Regions from separate parts of the Homo sapiens genome. Here regions 1, 2, 3 and 4 are each linked to region 5. The links are contacts of gene promoters, found by promoter capture Hi-C in blood cells and fetal thymus (Javierre and others, 2016). All regions are on one chromosome and are shown on one strand. Each heading gives the region's core, a stretch centred on a gene start or on the middle of the fragment in contact. The rest is flanking DNA. Distances are from core to core; before and after follow the strand shown. Region 1 overlaps PIWIL2 (piwi like RNA-mediated gene silencing 2). Region 2 overlaps PIWIL2 (piwi like RNA-mediated gene silencing 2). Region 3 overlaps PIWIL2 (piwi like RNA-mediated gene silencing 2). Region 4 overlaps PIWIL2 (piwi like RNA-mediated gene silencing 2). Region 5 holds the start of PEBP4-AS1 (PEBP4 antisense RNA 1).

Region 1 (2,700 bases), core at 180-2,679, 570 kb after region 5:
GTCCCAGCTACTCAGGAGGCTGAGGCAGGAGAATGATGTGAACCCGGGAGGCGGAGCTTGCAGTGAGCTGAGATTGCGCTGCTGCACTACAGCCTGGGTGACAGAGCCAGACTCCGTCAAATAAATAAATAAATAAATAAATAAATAAATAAATAAATGAATATCTATACCTTTCCTCATGGATTCAGAGTTTTAATCTTCCTTCACTGGAAATTCTCCTTAACTCTTTAACCTAATAGCTTATGTGGATATTTAGTTCCGCCTCGTGGGGACTTCTAAAGCAGATCTTACCAGTGTGAGTGGTGCCTCTGGCTGGATGAGACAGACAAACACTTGCACAGCTTTCCGCAACTACACTACGATTGCTACTCCACAGCTCCCACAAAGCCATGAGGACGGCTAAAAGCAGCTGACAGGATGAAGAACTTAAGCTGGAATTGTAAGCCTGACAGCCCTACTCACCATCCCATGATTATCCTGTCTCTCACTGGGCCTGTGAATCAGCAATGGCTGGTCCTCTTCCTTAACTGTGATCCCATAATTTTTGCTAGAGCAGAGTAGAGGCAGGAAAAAATTTCAGAAGCAGCATCAATACTCTTAGAGCACCATAGTCTGAGTCTCTTAACCAGGACTGAGGTATATAATTTGCATAATACTCTTGTCAAGGAGCCACTGCAAACCGATCATAATATATTTATAACAGGAAAAAGCAGGCTCAAATTATGTTGCAATTAAATATAGGAGAAATAAGGCTAAAAGTTCAAGAAAGACTTTGTTAAAAACATCAGGCTAAAGGGTTCAGGCAATAGAAACATGAAATGACAGTCAAATGATTAATGACTTGAATTTAATCTCTCCAGACTTCTAATAAAATCAGAAAAACAATTCAAAGCCCTTAATTTATATAGTAACTTCCAAATTACTAAAATAATTGAAGATATAATGGTAGCATACTCAAGTCAAATCCCACAAACAAGCTCATTCAGTGTTAGACACATTACCAATTCAATTATTTTGAAAAGTGTCAAGTGGTATGCTATTGCAGAACTCAATATCTGCTGGAGAACGTGGACTACATCCAACCCCCACCCTGAGGCCCAAACCCAGTCTCTTCTTGCTACCTGTAGTATTCCAAGAATGTGATCTCTTTCCCATCAGACATCGTGAAGCTATCCTTTGGAGTCTTATTCCAATCCACATCATCAATACGATAGGTACGATTGTTATATCGGGTGATAACAATATTGCCAACCAGAAGCTTAGTACACTCATCCTGGAAGTGTTCTTTATTCTGCTGATAAATGGCATGCCTTTGGAAAGAGATAAAAGACTTTTGGATCACAGTATATATCCAGAACAGTATGAAAGGGATAGGGGATCAAGTAATTGAGGAATCTAATCACAGCTATATAGCACCAGAAGGCTCCAGTTGTGTTAAAAGATGGGACTCTTGGCCAGATGCAGTGGCTCACGCTTGTAATCCCAGCATTTTAGGAGGCAGAGGCAGGAGGACTGCTTGAACCCAGAAGTTGGAGACCAGCCTGGGCAACATAGTGATACCTTATTTCCTTGGTGGGGGAAAAAAAAGGAAAAAGCTTAAGAGGGCCTGAACTGCAGGAAATAAGAGAATATAGGCCTACCAGGCATGATGGCTCACAGTTGTAGTCCCAGCTATTCGAGAGGCTAAGGTGGGAGGATTGCTTGAGCCCAGGATATTGACATCAGCCTGGGCAACATGGCGAGACCCCATCTCTAAAAAACTTAAAAAATTAGCCAGGTGTAGTGGCGTACCTTGTAGTCCCAGATACTCCAGAGACTGAGGGAGGTGGGAAGACGGCTTGAACCCAGGAGTTTGAGGCTACAGTGAGCTATGATAGCATCACTGCACTCCATCCTGGGTGACAAAGTAAGGCCCTGTCCCTAAATTAATTAAAATTAATTGTTTAAAATTTCGTACTTTGAAATACTCATCAAATCATAGAAAGTTGCAAAATGTGGACATAGAGTCTCATGTACAAAACTGCCATTGCTATAATATCATTAACTAGACTACAGATCTTACTCCATTTTCATTGTTACTTACATACACTGGTGTGTTTGTATGTGTATACAGTTTCCTCACATCTATAGGTTACCACAATCAGATACCAAACTGTTGCATGTCACCACCAAGGGACTATTTCCTGCTGCCCTTTATATTCACACTCCCCCTCCTTCCCTAGATCTGGTAACTACCAGTCTATTCTCTAGCTTTGTCATTTTGAGACTCCTACAGAAATAGAACCAAAAAGTGTACAACCTTTTGAGATAGAGAAAACTTAATCTAGGGGTAGGGATGGGAACCCATGGCAAGCCAACTACAAGTGGCAATGGAGAAAAGCAAAGTTCTGTTAGCCTAGATTTGTTGTCTAAGTTGAGGTGGGCAGTGCATCAACTAGAAATTTAAGGGCTAAATCCTGGTAATCAGAAAGCCATAGAAGGCCACACATCCTTGGCTGACTGGGAAACCATCTATGCTTAGAAGAGAGCCAAGAAATCTCAGCTGAGAGTTAAAAGCCAAAAAAGATGGGAGAACTACATTTAATTTTGAAAGCATTCTTCAATCTACACACAAATCCATTAGCAGAGATGGAAGCCTTATGGAGTCATGGGGTTTGAGTATAACTGCTCTCCAAATCATTATCCGAATGACTAAGCTCT
Region 2 (2,700 bases), core at 15-2,514, 550 kb after region 5:
GAGGAAAAACATTAACGGACACATCCCCAAAGCCTAAGGGACACCAAGCAGGATAAACTCAAAGCTGACCTGCAACATCAGCTATCCCCTGGGTCTCCAGCCTATTGGTTCATCCTGCAGATTTTGAACTTGCCAGCCTCCATAACTGTGTAAGCCTATTTGTTAAAATAAATCTATACACATGCTCACACCCTATCAGTCCAGTTTCTCTGGGGAATGCTAATACAGAATTAGCACCAAGAAAGTGGGAGAGAATAGAACTATACAGGAACAAAGTTTCTATATACTATTGCTACAGTCTGAATGTGTGTCCCTGCCAAATCTCATGTTGACATGTAATTCCCAATACTGGAGGTGGGGCATGGTGGGAGGTGTTTCGATTATAGGAGCAGATCCCTCAGGAATGGCTTGGGCCATCCCCTGGTGATAAGTGAGCTCTTGCTTTGAGTTTACACAAAGATTTGGTCACTTAAAATGTGTACCGCCTCTTCTTCTCTCTCACTTTCTCTCTCTCTCATTTACTCCTGCTTTCACCATGTGAAGTGCCTGCTTCTGCTTCACCTTCCACCATGACTGTAAGCTTCCTGAGGCCTCCCTAGCAGCTGAGTGGATGCCAGCATTATGCTTCGTGTAAAGCCTGCAGAACCATGAGCCAATTAAACCTCTTTTCTTTATAAATTATCCAGTCTCAGGTATCTTGTTACAGCAATGCAAGAATGGCCTGACACAACTATTAAAATTAATTTGGTATTAATCTGAACAAGACTGTTAAAAGTTAATATGCAGAAAAATCATCTGATAAAATCCAACACACTTTCATTATAAAAATACTCAGCAAATTAGGAGCAGAAACTTTCTTAACATGATAAAGGAAATTTATGAAAAACTCAGAGCTAACATCATATACAATGGTGAAAAACTGAAACCTTTGCCTCTACTATCAGGAAAAAGACAAAGATGCCTGATTTTAGCACTGCTATTCAATACCATAATAGAAATCCTAGCCATAACAATTAAGGAAGAAAAGGAAATAAACTAAGCAAATTAAGAAAGAAAAGGAAATAAAAAGAATTCAAACTGAAAAGAAAGAAGACTCCATTCCCATAAGCAAATGACATTATTCTGTATCTAGAAAATCCCAAAGAATTAAAAAAAAAAAAAAAAAAACGACTAGAGCTCATAACCACATTCAGAAAAGTTACAGGGTACATGATCAACACATAAAAACAGTTGTGTTTCTATATGCCAGCAATGAACAACCCAAAAATGAAATTAAAACTATTCCATTTACAATAGCATCCAAAAGAATAAAATAGCTAGGAATAAACTTCAACCAAACAGGTAAAGACTTATACATGGAAACTACAAAACACTGCTGAAAGAAATTTAAAAAGATCTAAATAAATAGAAAGACATCCTGTGTCCATATGCTGGAAGACAGTATTGTTAAGATGACAATACTCTTCAAAGTAATCTAGATATTCAATACAATCCCTATGAAAGTTTCAATGGCCTTTTTTTGCAGAAACAAAAAAACCTTCTCTCAAATTCATATACAATTCCAAGGGGGCACTGAATAGCAAAAACAATACTGAAAAAGAAAAATAAAGTTGGAAGACTCACACTCTCCAATTTCAAAACTTATTACAAAGCAACAATAATCAAAACAGTGTGTTACTGGCATAAAATGAGATGCACAGACCAATGGAATAGAATTAGCAGTCCAGAAATAAACCCAAACATCCATGACAATTGATTTTCAAGTAGGGTGCCAAGATTTCTCAATGGGGAATTCTCTCAACGAATGGTGCTATGACAAGTAGATATCCAGATGCGAAAGAATAAAACTGGACCCTTACCTCACTTTGTATAACTCAAATCAGTGACTTATATGTAAGAGTTAAAAAGTATAACATTGTTAGAAAAAAAAAACAGGGGACAAGCTTTTATGACCTTGGATTTGGCAATGAATTCTTAGATTGAGCACCAAAACCATAAGGAACAAAAGATACAATAGATAAATTGCATGTTATCAAAATTTAAAATTTTCGTGCAGCAGAGACCATTATCAAGCAAGTGAAAATCTAAAGAATGGGGGGAGATATTTGTAAATCATACATCAGATAAGAGTATAGTTTCCAGAATATTTTAAAAACTCCTACGACTCAACAACAAAACGACAAATAGCCCAATTTAAATGGGCAAAGGATTTGAATGACACAAACGAGCAACAAGCACATGAAGGATGTTCAACATCACTGGTCATTAAGAAACGCAAGTCAAAACCACAATGAGATACTTCACAACAGTGATGATTCAAGCCGGGCATGGTGATTCATGCCTGTAATCCCAGCACTTTGGGAGGCCAAGGTAGGCGGATCACCTGAGGTCGGGAGCTTGAGACCAGCCTGACCAACATGGAGAAACCCCGTCTCTACTAAAAATACAAAATTAGCTGGGCGTGGTGGTGCATGCCTGTAATCCCAGCTACTCAGGAGGCTGACGCAGGAGAATCGCTTCAACCCGGGAGGTGGAGGTTGTGGTGAGTCAAGATCGCGCCATTGCACTCCAGCCTGGGCAACAAGAGTGAAACTCCGTCTCAAAAAAAAAAAAAAACGAAACAAAAAACCCCACAAAAAACAGTGATGATTTAAAAAAACTGAAAAGGCCAGGCGTGGTGCCTCACTTTGGGAGGCTGAG
Region 3 (2,700 bases), core at 43-2,542, 600 kb after region 5:
AAAATGCAGAGTTTTCACGATCATTACTAAGTAGAGAAGGCAGTGCTCCTGACTTACTTTTCCTTGTGTTCCACAGTCAGGACCAGAGGGCGATCTGGAGAGTGCAGGGGAGACTGGGGCAGAGCTGGTGGTGATGACAGCTGCGGGGGACCCCGGGACGGTGTGCTGAAGGTACAGGGAGGCTTGTCCACTTCTCTGCTGATACCACCTGCTGCTCTTCCCAGTGGTAATAAAGACGCATCTGAACTCCCTCTTCCAAGCGTCCTGAAATGTGGAGAGAGAGGCAAATCAGGGTTTTTTATAATAGCTATGTCCCATCCAGATTATTCCCCCAACTCCACAATCTCTTCCTGGAGGAGACAGCAAAAGGGATCCAAGTTTCAAATTCTCTCAAACTACATATGCCAAGGCCAGGCACAGTGGCTCACGCCTGTAACCCTAGCACTTTGGGAAGCTAAGGTGGGGAGACTGCTTGAGCCCAGGAGTTCAAGACCAGCCTAAACAATACAGTGAGACCCCGCACTATAAAAAATACAAAAATTAGCCAGGTATGGTGGCTCATAACTGTAGTCCCAGCTACTCGGGTGGCTGAGGTGGGAGGATCACTTCAGCCTGGGAGGTCGAGGCTGCAGTGAGCTGAGATCACACCACTGCACTAAAGCCTGGGTGACAGAGATAGAACGAATTTCAAAAAAAAAACACAACATATGCCACCATGACTCATTCACCAACTGCTATTGACTGTCAGAGCCATCTTCCATAGCAGAATAGAGGAGAAAGTTTGACTCAACGTTATTAAAGAATCACCACGGCTGCGTGCAGGGGCTCACGCCTATAATCCCAGCTCTCTGGGAAGCCAAGGCGGGAGGATTACCTGATGTCAGGAGTTTGAGACCAACCTGGCTAATAAGATGAAACCCCGTCTCTACTAAAAATACAAAAATTAGCTGGGTGTGAGGCGGAGGTTGCAGTGAGCCAAGATCGTGCCACTGCACTCCAGCCTGGTGACAGAGTGAGACTGTCTCCAAAAAAAAAAAAAAAAAAAAAAAAAAAGCCGGGTGTGGTGGCGCACACCTGTAGTCCCAGCTACTCGGCACACTGAGGCAGGAGAATCGCTTGAACCTGGGAGGTGGAGGTTGCAGTGAGCCAAGATTGCCCCACTGCATTCCAGCCCGGTCAACACAGTGAGACCCCATCCCTTAAAAAAAAAAAAAAAAAAAAAAGTCCACGCACAGTGGGGCTCATGCCTGTAATCTCAGCACTTTGGGAGGCCGAGGTGGGTGGACTGCCTGAGGTCAGGAGCTCAAGACCAGCCTGGCGAACACAGTGAAACCTCGTCTCTACTAAAAATACAAAAAATTAGTTGGGTATGGTGCCACATGCCTGTAGTCCCAGACACCTGGGAGGCTGAGGCAGGAGAATTGCTTGAACCTGGGAGGCGGAGGTTGCAGTGAGCCAAGATTGAGGCATTGCACTCCAGCTTGGGAGACAGAGCAAAACTTCATCTCAAAAAAAAAAAAAAAAAAAAAATCACCATGATCAGGGTAATTTTTTAAGAGGACAAATGAATTTTTGAACAGCCCAGTGGAGAACTACTTCTTACCCTTTTCCAATGCCTAGCTGTGTTAACAGCTGCTGACTACTCTTGAGAAATATGCATTCTTTAATATAAAACCAGACATTGATTATGAGATGACACAACTCTTCTTAGAGTTGCTCTCTGAACTTACAGAGATATTCCATCTGAATTTGATAGTTACCTGAGAGGGTAACTTTACCCACCTACTCCAACCAACGGAGGTCTCTGCCATCTTGCTGTCCCCAGCCGCCAACACTTTTGGATCCCAAAAAGTGGGAGAGAGTTCCTCCCTGTCCTTGCGTACCAGATTAGCAGACAAGCCTCGACCTAAAATGCCTCTACCTGAAAGAAAGAACCGAACCCCAGCAATGACTATGACTTAAACGTGTTTTAAAGTATAGTTTTTTTTTTTAAAAAAAGCACAGTTACGTTTCTGAAAATAAACCATTTGGATTTTAGAAGAAACCAATCATACATACCACCAAATTTCTCAAGTTAGTTTTCCACATACCTGATGGAAGCATTTCCCGTTTCAGAGGGGTCTTAGAAACTGTTTCAATGCCCAGGCCTCGGAACATGGAGACCAAACCCACAGACTCCTGTGGAAAGTCAAAGAATAAAGTTCTAAGAGGTAGTTTAAAACCCCAGAAACAAGGGCTTTCTTAGTCTTGGTATATAATAAAATCATCTTCAAATTCTATACATGTTATAAGAATAAAGGGAAACATTTTATAAACTTTAAAAAATACCTGTAACTATGTAATATTAGGTCTTAAAGCACAGTTACAGTTATGGCCCATGATTTGATGTGTACAGTATAACAAAATGCAACAGAACAGAATTAACTTTTCCATTTTGATTTGATAAACAGTATAACAAAATGCAACAGAACAGAGTTAATTTTTCCATTTTGATTTGATAAACAGTATAACAAAATGCAACAGAACTTTTCCATTTTTCTATTTTCTGCATATTCAAGGCAAGAGAGAACAAGTGTACTGGTTAATACATTTCAAAAAAGCTGGATCATTTATGAGTATCAGAGGTTTGTGTAACCTGCTACTGTTTTCCTGTGGCAGTCTTGAATGTCTACTACTGTTATACCAGTTGGATCTGACATG
Region 4 (2,700 bases), core at 98-2,597, 530 kb after region 5:
AGAAATCCACCCTAGGAAGGAAAACCATAAATCAGTGAAATGGTCGGATTCAGCCAGACAGAGCTGGCAAAGATCCTGGAGATCGTTCTAGCTCCTTCAACTAAAGCTCAGAGAGCTCAAATGACTGGATCAAGGACACAGAGGCCAGACCAGGATTAGAACCCAGGTCTCCTGACTCAAGAGGCTACTGAAGAATGGTGGTAACAGGCTGGGTGCAGTGACTCATGCCTGTAATCCTAGCACTTTGGAAGGCTGAGGCAGGCAGATTGCTTGAGCCCAGGAGATCGAGACCAGTCTGGGCAACATGGCAAGACCCTGTCTCTACAAAAAATACAAAAATTAGTTGGGCATGGTGGCATACGCCTATTGTCCCAGCTACTCAGGAGGCTGAGGTGGGAGGATCACCTGGGCCTAAGCAGGTTGAGGCTGCAGTGAGCTGAGATCACATCATTGCACTCCACCCTGGACAACAAAGCGAGACCCTGCCTCAAAAAAAAAAAAAAAAAAAAAAAAAAAAGTGGTAGAAACTCCCTTATCTTCCTGTAGAAGTTAAGCATACGCTATCTTAGCAAAACAAGGTATGTTCAACTTTTCACTTAAGAGGTAAAAGCTTTCTTGTTTTTAAATCTTTTTTGTTTCGTTTTGAGACAGAGTCTCTCTCTGTTGCCCAGGCTGGATTACAGTGGACTTACTGCAACCTCCGCCTCCTAGGTTCAAGCGATTCTCCTGTCTCAGCCTCCCGAGTAGCTGGCATTACAGGCACACACCATCACACCTGGTTAATTTCTGTTATTTACAGTAGACAGGGTTTCACCATGTTGGCCAGGCTGGTATTGAACTCCTGACCTCAGGTGATCTAACTGCCTCAGCCTCCCAAAGCGTTGGGATTACAGACGTGAGCCACCATGCCAGGCCCTTAAATATTTTTTAAACCTTCATTCTTTTAACGGTAGCCTCTCTGAGATTCTAGTCCACAACTCTCCAGGAAACCTCCCCATTCCAATACTCAGGAAAGTGACAACATCTCCAACTTATTCTTCCTCCAATACTACATATTTTGCTCACTTACCACTCACAGCTTGTTATTGTATGATCTACCACAGTTCCAGGAGTGGGAGTTACAAAGTTCTGAGGAGCAGCCAGATATAGATTAGTACTGATTTTCTTCTGAACTACAAACACCACCATCTTGGGCTGATAATTCTCAAAAGCTTCAAAACACTTCTGTAGTTGAGGAATCTCATAGTTGGCAACTGTCTTCAGTTGGCCATCAGACACTCCATCACGGTACACCACAATCTTCTCTGGTAGACAGTGGTTCACCTGAAATGACAGCGAGGATGTGGTGACTCACAGAGCCCTCAGGCTACGGACCACAGTCAGTGAGAGGCCCACTCGCATTGTGTAGCCTGGAATCATGGCAGATCCTTTTGCAGTTAGTGCCAAAGCTACTGTGCCTAGAGGGCAGGGAAAAAAAGCTTCTAATCATTTCTAGACTTCCTTGGGGTAGTAAAACACGCCTGGTGCAGCAAAGGTGTTATAAAACATGAAAGCAAAACATGCAAGTTATGAGTCACATGCATACGGCTTATCCACAAACAATGCAAACAAAGTTCAAAGGAATGCTGGGAAAACTGCAGGCTGAATCAATTTTCCTTCTACTTGGATTTAACACTAATAACTGTCGGGGCAAAGAATAAGGTAAAGTGTTAGAGAAATTCTAACATATGACCACATATGCCACAGATCCGCTGCCATCAGATTTTTACCTACTGGAAATATCCCAAGTTGCTGACAAGTGAAACGTCCCTTTACTAAATATTACCCTACAGTCTGGTATGGTGTAAAACATACAGTAAACATACAGTAAAACATTTTTACTGTAACTAAGTAATTAGCAAACAGCTAGCTATGTGAATTGTCTATGGGTCCAAATTAAATTAAATGCTTGCTTGAAGCAATTTGAAGAATAATTTTTCCCCCATTTAGGGAATATAATTGTGTTCTAGTTGTGTTCAACTTCAATAATTCAAGAAGGGCCAGGCACGGTGGCTCACGCCTGTCATCCCAGCATGTTGGGAGGCCAAGGCGGGTGGATCACCTGAGGTCAGGAGTTCAAGACCAGCCTGGCCAACATGCTGAAACCCTGTTTCTACTAAAGATACAAAAATTACACAGGCATGGTGGCACATGCCTCTAATCCCAGCTACCTGGGAGGCTGAGGCAGGAAAATCACTTGAACTCATGGGGTGGAGGTTGCAGCAAGCTGAGATTGTGCCACTACACTCCAGCCTGGGCAACAAAATTCAAGAGGGTAAGTTCACTTCAACTTAAAATGGAAGTTCCCTTTAAAAGTGCTTTAGTTTAATTCAGTTTTGATTCTAGTGGAGTGTGGTTCATTCTAAGTTTGTGTTCATACTTACCCTCAAAAACCTAAATTATGGGCTGGACACGGTGGGTCACGCCTGTAATCCCAGCACTCTCAGAGGCCGAGGTGGGTGGATCACCTGAGGTCAGAAGTTCAAGACCACCCTGGCCAACATGGTGAAACCCTCGTCTCTACTAAAAATACAAAAATTAGCCAGGTGTGGTGGTGCACACCTGTAGTCCCAGCTATTCAGGAGGCTGAGGCAGGAGAATTGCTTGAACCTGGGAGGTGGAGGTTGCAGTGAGCCAAGATTGCACCACTGCACTCCAGCC
Region 5 (2,700 bases), core at 38-2,537:
TCGCAATGCAATATGTTGAGTGCTGTTCTGTCAACATTGAGAGCGTTGAGGCCACACTCTCGTTCTGTGGCCTCACACAGATCAGTTAAACCTCCATGTCTGGTCTTCATCGTCACTGGGGATATTTGCTTCCCTTCCTAGCTGAGATCTATTCACTGTGAGTGGGCTCTGAGATGAGATTAGGATAGAGCATAGTAAAATGTTTCCCATGGGGAAGGGCTTGTCCTCTCTTTCAGTCTCTAAAGAGATGAAGGAACACAGAGGAGATACCACCCGCCCCATAGCCACGCTAAGCTGGGAACAAGAACTATAATTTTTAGCTCATCCCCCTACCCGGTGCTCTGTGATAAGAAACCAGCCCAACATCATTCTGGATGCCCTCTTCCAGCCTCCAGGGTCTGCCCGTGGTGGCTTAACTGTGATGACAGTTAAAATGCAAGAATACTTTCAAAAGGAGGGCTATTTTCCCCTTGGCATCCAGCTTGGCCTAGACATCCAGTTTGCTCTCTGTTCCCTGAGCTCCAAGCCTCCTCTCTGATGAAGCCAGGGAATGCACCCCTGTTTGGAGATCCTGTGCTCTGCCGACTTGCTCAGGCTGGCCAGTAGCAGAGTCCGAGTGAGCATCCCAGAGGAAGGAGGCCAGAGTACCCAAACCCAGAGGTGCCAGGCCCGGAGAGGGAAGCCCTCCCCACCTGTCTGCGCTTTGTGATTAGATATGAGCAATAGGGTAACTCACAGGCAGCAATCTCAGTCACTTGGTGTGTCAGGTAAACTGACGGGCAGAAAAGTGAGAAAGCACCACTTGGAAACCCAAGGCCACTGCCACACGGCCGGGTCCTGCCACCTCTCAGAGCCCTCCCACTGAGCATGCACTGACCCTCCACCCTCTCCCGCAGAGCCCATGCTGGTCTGACCTGCAGGATGTGTTTTCCGTAGAGGCCCCCAAATACCATCTTACCAGGCCAGTCCCCTACTATATTCTCTAACCTTAAATTCCAGGGATTCCGCCCCTCCCTCCCTCCCTCCCTCCCTCTCCCCCTCCCTCTCCATGCTCACCCTCCACCCCCTTTCCCTCAGGAGCTGCTCCTGTACCTGGAGTAGATTCACCTGCAAACACTCAGCTTGCAGGAGCACAGCAGACTGGGGAGTTTCCTTTCCCAGCCAAGCTGAGTTTGGAGGGGGGTGTGGGAGGAGGTGGGGAGGGCTGGGGACACAGGTTGAGTCTCTAAAGAATGAGGACTGCATTGCCTTCTTCCCTGCCTCCTGGTTACAGCTGAGAAAGTAACCAACTTCGTGTGTGTCTGTGTGTGTGTGTGTGTGTCTGCGCACGCGTGTGCAGTGTATGGATGCACAGACGGCCCCTCCATGGTGGGGTGGGGAGCCGTTCTCTCACCCTGCAGCTTTCTGCCTCTCCCTCCACCCTCCTCCGACTCCCTGCGTCCCACACTGCAGGTGTCTCTGAGGCAGTGTTTATGTAAGCAGCTCATGTTCTGCCGAGCGACAGCGAGAAGCTGTTGTCAATTCGAGGAAAGCCCCCGGCTGCCCACATGTGTGGTTGTCCCCGTGGGTTTCATAACAGGAGGGGGAGGTGGGGAGGTGGGGTGGTGGGCCCCTGGGGTGAGGGTGGCTGGGCTCAGCCCAGCCCAGGAGCCTCCTCCCCGCTGCCAACAGTGAGCCCGCCCGTGTGTTCACAAGCTGCTGGCCTCACCTCCTCTCCTCCCAGCTAGTTTCCCAGCCATTTGGCTACGGAGAGACAAAGTCAGTGCCTCCTGGCTCTGGCTGGCTCTGCCCAAGAATGTAGTACTTGGGTCGTGCTGGGCTACTGGAGTCAGGGCAAATAACCTGACATTTTGAAGGCACAAAAGTCCCAAGGACCTGCCAACCAACCAGGAGGTTGGTTTGATTCTGACCTCAGAATCAAAACATGGACCTGACGTTTTGATTCACAATAAGGACACGTAGCCCCATCATCTTTCTATTCCAAAGTCAGCTGTCCTCACCTGGACAACTGAGGACAGGGAGAGACTGGACAAAAAGGGCTCTTAGCCATTACAGTAGAAATGGCTGGGACACCTTATCCCTGAGGCTGAGGGCTGTTTGAGGATTCCCATTCAGCACAGCCTGGTTTGAGGAGGAAAGAAAAGACCAAAACATGGTGTCCACTTGATATGTTTATAAGGGTGGAATAAACTCCCTGAAACCCAAATCATAATTCAAATAGCTAATATATATGGAGTGCTTTTCTGATCCAAGCATCATGCTATGAAATGTACATTTCAGTCCTGGCAAAGACTTAATGAAGGAGGCACTATTAGCCTCATTTTAAAGATAAGGGTCCAAGGCCCAGAGAGGTTGAATAACTAGTCCAGCCTCACACAGCAGTTAAGGGAGAGGTTCTCCTTTCTACCCTGAACATTAACAGAAATGTGTTTACATTTTCTGGCTAACCAAGCCAGATTTTGGCTTTGCTCCAAGGAAGCTAATGTCCCACCTGAGAAGTAGCTTTGTTTAAACAGTGGAGAAAATAATTCCTAACTCATTTATTTACTTCTAATTTTACACTTCAAGTGCTGTTTATTTTCACAACAACACAAGCGCTATAAACATACACTGTCATCGATGAAGCACGTTTGTGAGGTGCCCCTGGGCTGCAAGTTGAGGTAGAGACAGAACATGTCATCACTGGTAGTGCCTTCATCA

The links. Contacts are between HindIII fragments. The CHiCAGO score rates a contact against its expected background, and 5 or more counts as called.
Region 1: a contact is called between a fragment that was not itself captured here and the fragment with the promoter of PEBP4-AS1 in region 5, in 2 of 17 cell types (total CD8 T cells and naive CD4 T cells). The highest score is 5.3, in total CD8 T cells.
Region 2: a fragment that was not itself captured here is called in contact with the fragment with the promoter of PEBP4-AS1 in region 5 in 1 of 17 cell types (naive CD4 T cells); the score reaches 6.4 in naive CD4 T cells.
Region 3: a contact is called between a fragment that was not itself captured here and the fragment with the promoter of PEBP4-AS1 in region 5, in 4 of 17 cell types (M2 macrophages, activated CD4 T cells, naive CD4 T cells and 1 more). The highest score is 5.3, in M2 macrophages.
Region 4: a contact is called between a fragment that was not itself captured here and the fragment with the promoter of PEBP4-AS1 in region 5, in 2 of 17 cell types (naive CD4 T cells and non-activated CD4 T cells). The highest score is 5.1, in naive CD4 T cells.

Annotation. Positions count from the first base shown.
Region 1 is chr8:22,302,631-22,305,330 of GRCh38, reverse strand. It overlaps PIWIL2 (piwi like RNA-mediated gene silencing 2), which reads right to left. Exons shown (of 23, transcript NM_018068.5): 11 at 1,122-1,310; 12 at 463-547. Among named protein-coding and RNA genes, the nearest start is that of PIWIL2, 29 kb to the right of the region's middle. The HindIII fragment of the contact is 337 bases long and covers 1,261-1,597 here.
Region 2 is chr8:22,327,286-22,329,985 of GRCh38, reverse strand. All of the region lies in intron 20 of PIWIL2 (piwi like RNA-mediated gene silencing 2), which reads right to left. Among named protein-coding and RNA genes, the nearest start is that of SLC39A14, 39 kb to the left of the region's middle. The HindIII fragment of the contact is 1,363 bases long and covers 583-1,945 here.
Region 3 is chr8:22,280,598-22,283,297 of GRCh38, reverse strand. It overlaps PIWIL2 (piwi like RNA-mediated gene silencing 2), which reads right to left. Exons shown (of 23, transcript NM_018068.5): 3 at 2,091-2,178; 4 at 1,783-1,921; 5 at 58-264. Among named protein-coding and RNA genes, the nearest start is that of PIWIL2, 6.6 kb to the right of the region's middle. The HindIII fragment of the contact is 5,060 bases long and covers 1-2,700 here.
Region 4 is chr8:22,351,582-22,354,281 of GRCh38, reverse strand. PIWIL2 (piwi like RNA-mediated gene silencing 2) reads right to left here. Exons shown (of 23, transcript NM_018068.5): 21 at 1,070-1,323; 22 at 1-11. Among named protein-coding and RNA genes, the nearest start is that of SLC39A14, 14 kb to the left of the region's middle. The HindIII fragment of the contact is 267 bases long and covers 1,214-1,480 here.
Region 5 is chr8:22,876,559-22,879,258 of GRCh38, reverse strand. PEBP4-AS1 (PEBP4 antisense RNA 1) reads right to left here and starts at 1,287. Exons shown (of 4, transcript NR_125433.1): 1 at 1,108-1,287. All of the region lies in intron 3 of PEBP4 (phosphatidylethanolamine binding protein 4), which reads left to right. RefSeq lists a silencer at 1,635-1,704. The HindIII fragment of the contact is 10,906 bases long and covers 1-2,700 here.